2 separate regions of the Homo sapiens genome follow, and region 2 is linked to region 1. Evidence: promoter capture Hi-C in 16 types of primary human blood cells and fetal thymus (Javierre and others, 2016). All regions are on one chromosome and are shown on one strand. Each heading gives the region's core, a stretch centred on a gene start or on the middle of the fragment in contact. The rest is flanking DNA. Distances are from core to core; before and after follow the strand shown. Region 1 holds the start of PPP3CC (protein phosphatase 3 catalytic subunit gamma). Region 2 holds the start of C8orf58 (chromosome 8 open reading frame 58).

Region 1 (4,787 bases), core at 573-3,072:
TATAGCATTGCGAAGTCATTTTAGTACAGGACGAAACTGCTAACAACTTTATACAGCAGAACGCACCGGCCATATTAACAGCACAGTACAGAAATTAATGTACATAATGACCTTGATTCCTCAAAAAAGGTTATGTTAAGTACACTCTGAATCTTAAGAGAGGGCTATATACTTCTTATAGGCTATACACTAATAATATGAAGACACATTTAAATGGTCACAATAATTTAGCTGTTCAGGGGATAATGTCAGTTAGATGAACAATTCAGTTAAACCTCTAACGATAGCATACAAATGCTAAGCAGATAAATCTCAAAAATCCCATTATAATTATGTAGTACAGATAATTAACATTTATGAGGCTGATTTGGGGAGAGAGGGGGGAAACCTAAGTTATACACTAAAATTCTTCCCCCTCCCTGAACATGCAATAAGGCGTTTCACCTTTTAAAAATGTATTCCCGTCACTAGTATTAGTTGCCTTTCTCCTTCTAATACCAAAATGAAAAAGAAGAAAAGTATCTTAATAATTTTCCCCACTGTCACGCTAACCCCTGCATCCAGAGGCCACTAACACAGCTGGTCTAAGTCTATTCCCTTCTTACAAAATAGCGCTTTCAAACCGATTGTTAATCTCAGAGAGAAGGGTTGTGCCTAAGACTTACGGCTGAATAAAAGCAGCACATAAATTAGTGGTTATGTGTAATCCATCTTCTTAGTTTAAAGGGAGAAACAACTATAACCTAAAACTCTACAAGATTTAGAGAGCAAAGAGCCCTTTACATTTTGTTCTTATAACAACAACAGAAATCTAACGCAGGTACACATATGAATCAGAAAACGTCATTCTCCAAGTCTTTATAACCAAAGGGAAAATAAAATACCATTACCCTGTCAAGAGCTCCGTAAACTTATTTTAAACATCATATAATGGATTTATCTGACTTGTTCATACTAAGTTTATTCCAGTAATAGCAGTGACTTGCAATGATCTAGAGAAAGCGGGTCAAAAGGCACATGGTATACGTCCTAAAAAAGGGTGGGGGGCGGACGTCAAGAAAGATCTAATCTTAAATATCTTACTTGGAAGAGTCGACTCCCTGCTCACACCACCCCCGATGGCTTCCCCCGAGTCGTTTCTTAAAGAGAAAAAAAGACAGGGATCCGGGCCCTTCGGGGCGGTGGGAGAAGAAGTCCCCACTGCACCCTGAACCCTTCGGGAGGGAACTTGGCACTGACGGCCAGGCACCTGACCAGGTGCAGCAGAAAACGCCGGGTCCGGGTGGCTGCTCTCGGAGGCTGCCGCCCGGCTCTGTCTACACCCCTCCGAGCCCTCCTAGGGTGGGCGCAGCCCGGCCCCAGCCTCCCTCCGCCCCGAGCCGCCGCCCAGCCGAAGGCCGTTTCCCGCGGGTCCCAGAGGAAGGCCCGGCCCGCCAGGCACCTTTGATGACGCGGTCGGTGGTGGAGAGGTGGAAGCGCCTCCCGGACATGGTCCCCTCGGCCTCCTCCAGGCTCCAGGAGCCCGCCGGACGTGCGCCTACGCCGCGGCCGCCGCCTTCTCCTCGGGCAGCCTTAGCTGCCCGGAGCCGTCAGCCAGCCGTGCCCGGCCCCGGCTCCTCAGCGGTGTCCGAGCACCAGAAGGGCGCGGCCACCGCAGCGCCGGCCTCCGACGCCACTGACAGGACGAGGGCCCACCGGCCGCTCTCTTGGGAGGCGCCAGCGGCTAAGGCGGGGAACACCGCTTCGGCACCGACCGCGACCGCTGCTAAGGGTGGCGACCGGGACGGCCGCGGCTGCTCGCGGCCCGGGCCCTCGTGCACGCAAGCGCGCCCCCGAGCGCCGCTCTCACAACTTCCCAGCGGCCCCGCTGTCCTAGCGGACCCGGCCGGGCCTCCCGCCCCGAGCGCCGCCCTCCCCACCCTTCCGCCTTCCCGCGAGGCAGTAGAGCTCGGCGCACGCGCTGCTCTCGGCTCCTCCGGCTCCGGGTCCCTGCTGCTAACCGCCCATTTTCGCTTCTTCTCAGCCAGCCCTCCCCGCAGCCGGCCCCTTCTCTCCTGCCAGCCCCTACCCGGGCCCGGAACATCTGAAACCCGCCCGCGTGGCCCGCGCGACCCGCGCGGGAGGCCGGCCCGGCCATCTTGCGACCCGGCCCTGCGGCCTCGCAGCGGCTCCGCGCCGCCTCCTGGGACCGCCTCGCCGAGAACCCCTGGCCTCCCAGTCCTCGCCCACAGGCGACCACCCTCCTCACCTCTGGGTCTCCCACCCGCTTTGTCTCAAGGAGTGTGATCAGTCCGGCCGCGCTCCTTCAGTTTTTGTGGGTCATTCAACAAACGCACACATTTAAACCCCCTCGCTTCATCTTTCCCGCTTGTTGAGTGCAGTTAGTACAATGAGAAGGACATTCGTGTCCATCCTAGTTCCAGTCCAGTAGCTAGGGCGGTGGGGGATTGGGGGAGCTCCGTTTCTGAGCAAGGCTCTGCTCCCTCCTCACTTTCCACATCGAAGAGAAGGGAGATCTCTGCTCCTGGGACCCCCGGGCCGGACCTCCTCGGCCACAAGAACTGACCTCTTCCTATGCCCTGTGTGTCACCTGCCCAGCTAGAAGCCCCTTTTTTCTTCCCCCTGACACAGTACCTGCCTCCCCGGCCCAGGCTCACTGTGGAACCCCATGGGCAAGTCCGTAGAAACTTAACAGTCTGTTCATCTCGAGGTTAAAAACTAACCTTTATCTGTCCTTAAAACTGTAAGCCTAGAACAGAAACTGGCTCCAACTGTCCTCTCACTGAGTAACTGGCAAAGTCAAAAGGATTTTGACTTTTAGCAATGCAAATGAAATATTGAAACTGATGTCCAATAAAACATATGCAAGTTACAGGCAAAACCAGTCTTAACAATTACCGCAGTGACCGATAAGTAGTTGTAGCTATGTAAATTTAAATTAATCCCGTTCCTCTAGGGGACTAGCCACATTTCAAGTGTTCAAGAGCTACACGCGGCTACCTTATTGGACATCCAGAAAATTCTACTGGACAGCTGTTAGGTAAAAGATTATAGGATTAAGCGTAAATCTCCAATAATATGGATTTATGTATAGGCGGTCTGGGGATATATAGTGGAATCAGACCCTGAATTATCCCTTGGAATTTTGACCATAGCTCTTTGATGGTAACCGCAGGAGGCAAAAGGACTTTAGGAGCCGACTAGAATTTGGTTTTCGTTTTCATGATCCTTGAGTCTTCCACCCAAGAGAATTGTTCAGATATCCTGGGGAAACTCTTCATTTAAGAAGTAACCAGAACTCCACGCCTATCAAATCATACCCCTGGGTCAGAGGCTAAAATTCATCTGGAAGAACCTCAACAGGATAGCTAAAAATAAAAAGTTTAAGAAAACATTGCGGGCCGGCAAAAAAGAAAAAAAAAAAGACCGGGTGGGGTGGCTCACGCCTGTAATCCCAGCACTTTGGGAGGCCGAGGTGGGTGGATCACGAGGTCAGGAGATCGAGGCCATCCTGGCTAACACGGTGCAACCCCGTCTCTACTAAAAATACAAAAAATTAGCCGGGCGTGGTGGCAGGCGCCTGTAGTCCTAGCTACTTGGAAGACTAAGGCAGGAGAATGGCGTGAACCCGGGAGGCGGAGCTTGCAGTGAGCCGAGATCGCGCCACTGCACCACTCCAGCCTGGGCAATAGAGCGAGACTCCGTCTCAAAAAAAAAATAAAATAAAGAAAGAAAGAAGGAAAGAAAGAAAAAACATTGCGGGCCGGGCAAGGTGGCTCACGCCTGTAATCCCAGCACTTTGGGAGGCCAAGGCAGGCGGATCACCTGAAGTCAGGGGTTTGAAAACAGCCTGGCCAACGTGGTGAAACCCCGTCTCTACTAAAAATACAAAAATTAGCCTAGCGTGGTGGCACATGCCTGTAATCCCAGCTACTCGAGAGGCTGAGGGAGGAGAATCGCTTGAATCCGGGAGGCGGAGGTTCCAGTGAGCCAAGATTACGCCCCGGCACTCCAGCCTGGGTGACAGAGCGAGACTGTCTCCAAAAAGAAAAAAAGAAAAAGAAAACGTTGCAGGCCGGGCACAGTGGCTAATGCCTGTAATCCCAGCACTTTGGAAGGCTGAGGTGGGCGAATCACCTGAGGTCACGAGTTTGAGACCAGCCTGGCCAACGTGGCAAAAACTCATCTCTGCTAAAAATACAAAAATTAGCTGGGCGTGGTGGTGGACGCCTGTAGTCCCAGCTACTCGGGACGCTGAGGCAGGAGAATCGCTCGAACCCGGGAGGCGGAGGTTGCAGAGAGCCAAGATGGTGCCACCGCATTCCAGCCTGGGCACAGAGACAGACTCCATCTATCTCAAACACAAAACCAAAAAACCCCACAAATACTAACTCGTTCAATCCTCACACCAACCCCATTTATATGATTATCCCCATTTTACAGATAAGGAAACTGAGGCACAGAGATGTGAAGAAACTTGCCCAAAGTCACAGAGCTGGTAGGAGGCTTAGTGAACACCATCATCGTCAAGAGACGTGCAGTACCTGAACTTTTTCTATAGCACCACGAACTTTTTCTATAGCACCACGTGGAATATGCGGCATGAGTCCTCAAGCATGGTATACATGAATTTACAGAATCCAGATGTCATTCTGTAGCTTGGCTTTAGCAAAGTAATTGTGAGCAACTTGCAGCCCTGTCCCTTCGTGTCCCCACCCCCACTTTTTTTTTTTTTTTTTTTTGAGACGGAGTCTCGCTCTGTCACCAGGCTGGAGAGCAGTGGCGTG
Region 2 (4,787 bases), core at 1,469-3,968, 160 kb before region 1:
CTACCTTGTGTCCCTGGGAGGATGGCAAGTGGTACGTTGGCTCCACTGGGGTTTCTGGCAGCCTGGGAGGGTTGGCACTGGGCACCTCCACCTTTGGGGGTGAAGCAGCCTTTGCTCCTTCAGAAAGACAGTCAGGTTGGCCAGGGCCAGAAGACACCCCATCAAGCTTCGGCTCAGAGGACCTGCTGGTGGGACCCCAGGCAGGCAGGACAAAGGGAGACACGATGGCCCCTCACCTGTGTGCTCTGTCTGGCTTAGCAGCTCCCATGGCCCCTGCCCCCGATTGCCTGGGGTGTGTAACGGGGACGGTAAAGGGGCTCGGGTCGACTCCTCCTCGCCGGGATCCTATGCACAGGAGAGACAGGTGATCAGGGCCTGGCTAGAGGGCTGAAGCTGCTCTGAGGGCAGCCATGGTTCCCAGGGTCCCATCTGTCCTCTCCCTCCCCCACTCGAATCTCACTCACCCCTGGGGGCCTCTGGATCCGCAGCTGCAGGTAGAGCTGCTGGAGCCTTGCCATCTGCTCCAGCACCAGGCACAGGTGTTCCAGATAGCGAAGACCCTGCCCGGGGAGGCAGGCCCAGGCTCCAGGCCCCAGGCCCCCCACCTGTGGGACATTGTGAGATAGGGGAGATTTCAGCCAGTAGGGCTCCTGCCCTACCCTAAGCAGCCAGGCTGGGCTCAGCCAGCAGATGGGAGCAGAGTGGGCCCCGAGGAGGAACACACGCAGCCGGCTTCCCCACTGCCCAGCGGGGCATAGTGCCAGGAAGGGCCCCCGTAGCTGCCCACCTCCTCTGCAGAGGTGGCCGTGCACAAATGGAACTGGGGTGCAGAAAGAACCTATGACACAACCCATCAATTAGGGGCAGGGAGTGCCCCACCCAGAGAGAGCTCCAGGGAGAACCAGAGGAGCTAGGCTGTCCATCCCACTCTTAAACCCAGCCTGAGAGTGAGCACTCACCGCCTCTTCTTCCAGGCCTGCCTCTAGGTCTGTGTCTGCCTCCATGGACTCCTGTTGCCCTGCTCCAAGGGGCACTTCACGCTCAGGCTTGCTTGCCAGCCGCAGGGAGCGGTGTTGTCCTGACAAGCTGGTGGGAGCTGTTGGGAGCCGGCGGGACCGCTCCAACACCTCCCCCAGCTTCTGGCTGGCCAGGAGTCGGCCTACCTGGGCGGGGGGCTCAGAACTCCCTGAGGATTCAAAGTCCAGGGAGTCCTGAGAAAGGCCCGGTAAGGCGGCCAGGGGGCTGTCCCCAACTGCCATCTCCACTCCTGAGTCCCGGGAGGCCAGTTTGAGAAAGAGTGCCTCCCTGCCGACACCTCTGAACTTGTCACCTCTCTCCCAGGATGAGCACCCGTGGGCAGCGTCGGGGATCCGTCTGTAGGTGCTGGTGACTCCAGGCACTATGCAGCCCCGTGCCAGGCCCTCGCCAGCCCCATCTGCATGGAGAGTCAGCGTCAGGCTGGGCAGGCCACCCCCAACACCCCCAGCATTCCTGAAGGCTGGCAGCACTGCCCCAGGGAGAAGTGTCCCGGAGCAGTGAGGAAGGGCGGTCACTGGACAGCCACGGGCAGCCCGGATATGGCCCCAGCTGTCTGGGAGATGTGTGGATGGGATTCCCTTCGCAACGGTTGTTAGCGACAGGGAACCCGTGCTCTGAGCTGTGTGGTAGGCAAAGCCCTGGCAGGCCACATCCATCAATCCCTTAGACGGCCTGCGCCTGCGCTTCCCACCTAGGATCAGCCCACGATCTCCCGAGTCAGAAGTAGGGAGCCACAGGCTCTTCCGCTGCTCCCCAAGCGGGAGTAGGACTGTATCCAGCTTCAGGGAGAGGGGAGAGGGTACAGAGAGGAAAGCCTGGGATCCAACCTGCTCTCTGGGGGCCCCTGCGGCATCAGGATGCCAGGTGAAGTCTCTCCTGCAGCTCACCGGGAGAGTGATAAAAATCACCGCTATAACCGATTTGGGCTTTTGTTGTAAGTGAGCAATAGTGAAGATTTTATGAAAAGTTTAAAATGAAAGAACTGAAGTGAAAGAAAGGGACGAAGGGGCAGCATTAGCACCCCCTCACTGTCACCTCCGCCAGGCCCTCTGGCGACGGGGCGTCCTGGCGGAATGAACGGTACGGGAAACAGGCTAGGGGGGCGGGGACGAGCTGCGGGGCACGCGGGAGCCGAATGCCAACCCAGGCCCCTCTGGGCAAGGAAGTGGGCCAGGAGGTCACTGGGTGGGAGAGGGGTCCGCAGCCACGGAGGGGGCTGGGGCGCGGGCGGATTCCCACATCCTCAGAAGGAGCGGGAAGGCGAGGGAAGCGGAGCCGGAGGAAGTGGGGCGGAGGCGGTGGCTGGTTTAACGCCTGGGCCCAAAGGGGTTCCAGCCTGCATGGCGTCCCCTGATGACCGCCCCTCCAGGGAGGCGGCGAGGGAGGCGCAGCGGCGCGGGCTCCGCCCGCGGGGTGCGCGGGGCTGGGCAAGAAACTGAGAGAGGGTGCCCGGCTTGGGGGCGGGAAGCGGCTCCGGGGCAGGGGGGAGCCCGGCCAGCCTGGGGGTGGGTGACTCACCCCGGCCGTCCACGGCGAAGGCGCGCCGCCGGCCCATCATGGCCCGCTCCCGGCCCCGGCCCCGGCCAATGCAGCCGCCCGAGGATCCCGGCCCGAGTCCCCGCGGAGCTCGGGCAGCTCAGGGAGCGCGTCCCGACCCAGCTGGGCGCGGCCCCCAGACACTCCCAGCGGGGCTGGGGGGGCGGGGAGCGGGGCTGGGGGGGCGGGGGGCGGGGCGGTGGGGGGCGTGGCCTAGGGGGAGGAGAGAGGAAGAGCGAGACGAGGAAGGGAGGGGCGAGGAGAGAGGGGAGGGGCGAGACGAGGGAGGGGAGGGGCGAGGCAAGGTAGGGGAGCGGCGAGAGGAGGGGAGGGGCGAGGGGAAGGGGGAGGGGCGAGGAGAAGGGGGCGAGGAGAAAGGGGCGGGGCAAGACGAGGGATGAGAGGAACGAGGCGAGGGAGGGGAAAGGAGAGGGAGGGGAGGGGCGAGGAGAGGGAGGGGAGGGGCGAGGAAGAGGAGGGCGAGGGGAGGGGAGAGGAGAGGGTGGGGAGGGGAGAGGGAGGGGAGAGGGGAGGGGCGAGGAGAGGGTGGGCAGAGGAGAGGGAGGGGAGAGGGGAGAGGGGAGGAAAGGAGAGGGGAGAGGGGAGGAGAGGAGAGGGGAGAGGGAAAGGGGAGAGGAGAGGGAGGGGAGGGGAGAGGAGAGGGAGGGGAGGGGAGAGGAGAGGGGAGGGGCGAGAGGAGGGAGGGGAGGGGCGAGAGGAGGGAAGGCAAGGGTGCCAGGTGGGGGGCGCAGGTGGCCGGGTCGCCAAGAACGAGGTCGAAGGCACGGACTGGGTGGCGCCCCCAACTGTGGCTGTGGCCAAAATAAGGGTCCCGATCAGCTGTTCTGCGAGGACCCGGCCCCCGCCTGGGGACGCCGTCTGGCTCGGGGCGCCGGTCCGCCCGGCCCCGCGGGTTCACACGCAGCGTCCGTCTTCCTGCCGCGGACTTAGAGCCGGGGCTGGCTGGAGGACCGGACAAGAGCCAGGAAGGAAATGGGAGCCCCACGTGCTGGCGGTGGGAAGAGCGCTGACCAGGACGCGGGCACCCGGCGCTCCCTAGCAGTGTGGCTTGGGGGCCAGTCTCTTGGCCGCTCGGAAACCTGGGCGATGGGAGGGGAAACGATCCTGCCCACCGGGAAATCTTTTACAACTGCAGAACGCGCGTGTGTCCTCAGCTAGATCTGAACCCCCTCCCGGTCCCCTGCCTCTTTCTCATCCCGGGCTCCCTAAAGCTGGGGACTGGGTAGGTCTCAAGGTCTGGAAAGATGCGAGCCAGCGGGGAGCCGCCTGGAGACTGGGCCAAAGTGTAAATGTCCCCCTGTTCCCACCTCACCCTGCCTTTGGCCCGTGGGATTCCACCCCTCAGTCCCCAACCTAAAAGGAGCCCAAGAAGCTACTGAAGATGAGAGAGAGCCTGGTGACCAGACTGGGGCTGGTGTCCTCTAAAGAAGGCACCTCCTCCAGAGGGAGGGGGCAGGGCTGGAAAAATCCCAGCAGGACCCAAATCCCCCGGAGGCAGATAAGGGAGCTGGAGGACGTGCAGACTAGCACCTGGACCTCTAGGGGAGGGGAGAGGCTGGAGCCAGAGCCACTGGAAGGAAGTGGCTGTTTACCGGGAGGGGTAAGACAGTCTGTGCATCCCCTTCCCTTTGCTCCTTTCTGGAACCAGTCCCCAAACACCCACTGCAGGAGCCTTTATCAGAGAGCCACAAACTATCAGATTTTAAAACTTTATAAAATGGGGAAACTGAGGCCCACAGCCAATCTCTGCGCAGGCCAGCCGAATGACAGCCAAGTGCCAGAATTGCTGGCCATGTCTCAACAGAGTCACATTCAAGCCCAGGCCCTTCCCTGCTAGCCATGGGTCCTCTGGGTTGCCCCCACCCTGCCCAGTCCTCCTAGACAGTACCCATTCCGCTTCTCACAGGCAGAGAGAGAACCAGAGTGCTGGGTCTCCAGGAACTGCCTTATGCAAGACCAAGAAGATGTGTGGAATCACACCCCGGCCGTGCCAGAGCCCTGCCAGCCCTCCCTGGGTAGGAGGGAGCCCAGACTCCCTCCAAAGTAAGAGGGTGGGGGAGGGAGCCTTTGCCAGATCGCGCCCTGAATTTGGAGAATGTGGGGCGGGATTCCAAACAGTCTCTGTGGTGACTCTGGGACAGGAATGCATCTGGAAACAGGAAGCCCAGCCAGCAGGAATGCAGTGTCTCAGC

The links. The method cuts DNA at HindIII sites, captures the fragments that hold promoters and counts their contacts. A CHiCAGO score of 5 or more calls a contact.
Region 2: a contact is called between the fragment with the promoter of C8orf58 here and the fragment with the promoter of PPP3CC in region 1, in 16 of 17 cell types (naive CD4 T cells, total CD8 T cells, non-activated CD4 T cells and 13 more). The highest score is 25.7, in naive CD4 T cells.

Annotation. Positions count from the first base shown.
Region 1 is chr8:22,438,113-22,442,899 of GRCh38, reverse strand. PPP3CC (protein phosphatase 3 catalytic subunit gamma) reads right to left here and starts at 1,822. Exons shown (of 14, transcript NM_005605.5): 1 at 1,442-1,822. The coding sequence starts at 1,490. RefSeq lists silencers at 1,300-1,959, 2,050-2,239. The HindIII fragment of the contact is 13,070 bases long and covers 1-4,787 here.
Region 2 is chr8:22,597,530-22,602,316 of GRCh38, reverse strand. C8orf58 (chromosome 8 open reading frame 58) reads right to left here and starts at 2,718. Exons shown (of 7, transcript NM_001013842.3): 1 at 2,557-2,718; 2 at 960-1,435; 3 at 465-605; 4 at 237-345; 5 at 5-117. The coding sequence starts at 2,596. It also overlaps a transcript of PDLIM2 not described here. RefSeq lists enhancers at 154-1,031, 3,720-4,467, 4,468-4,787 and silencers at 2,319-2,778, 2,809-2,908, 3,274-3,333. The HindIII fragment of the contact is 7,578 bases long and covers 169-4,787 here.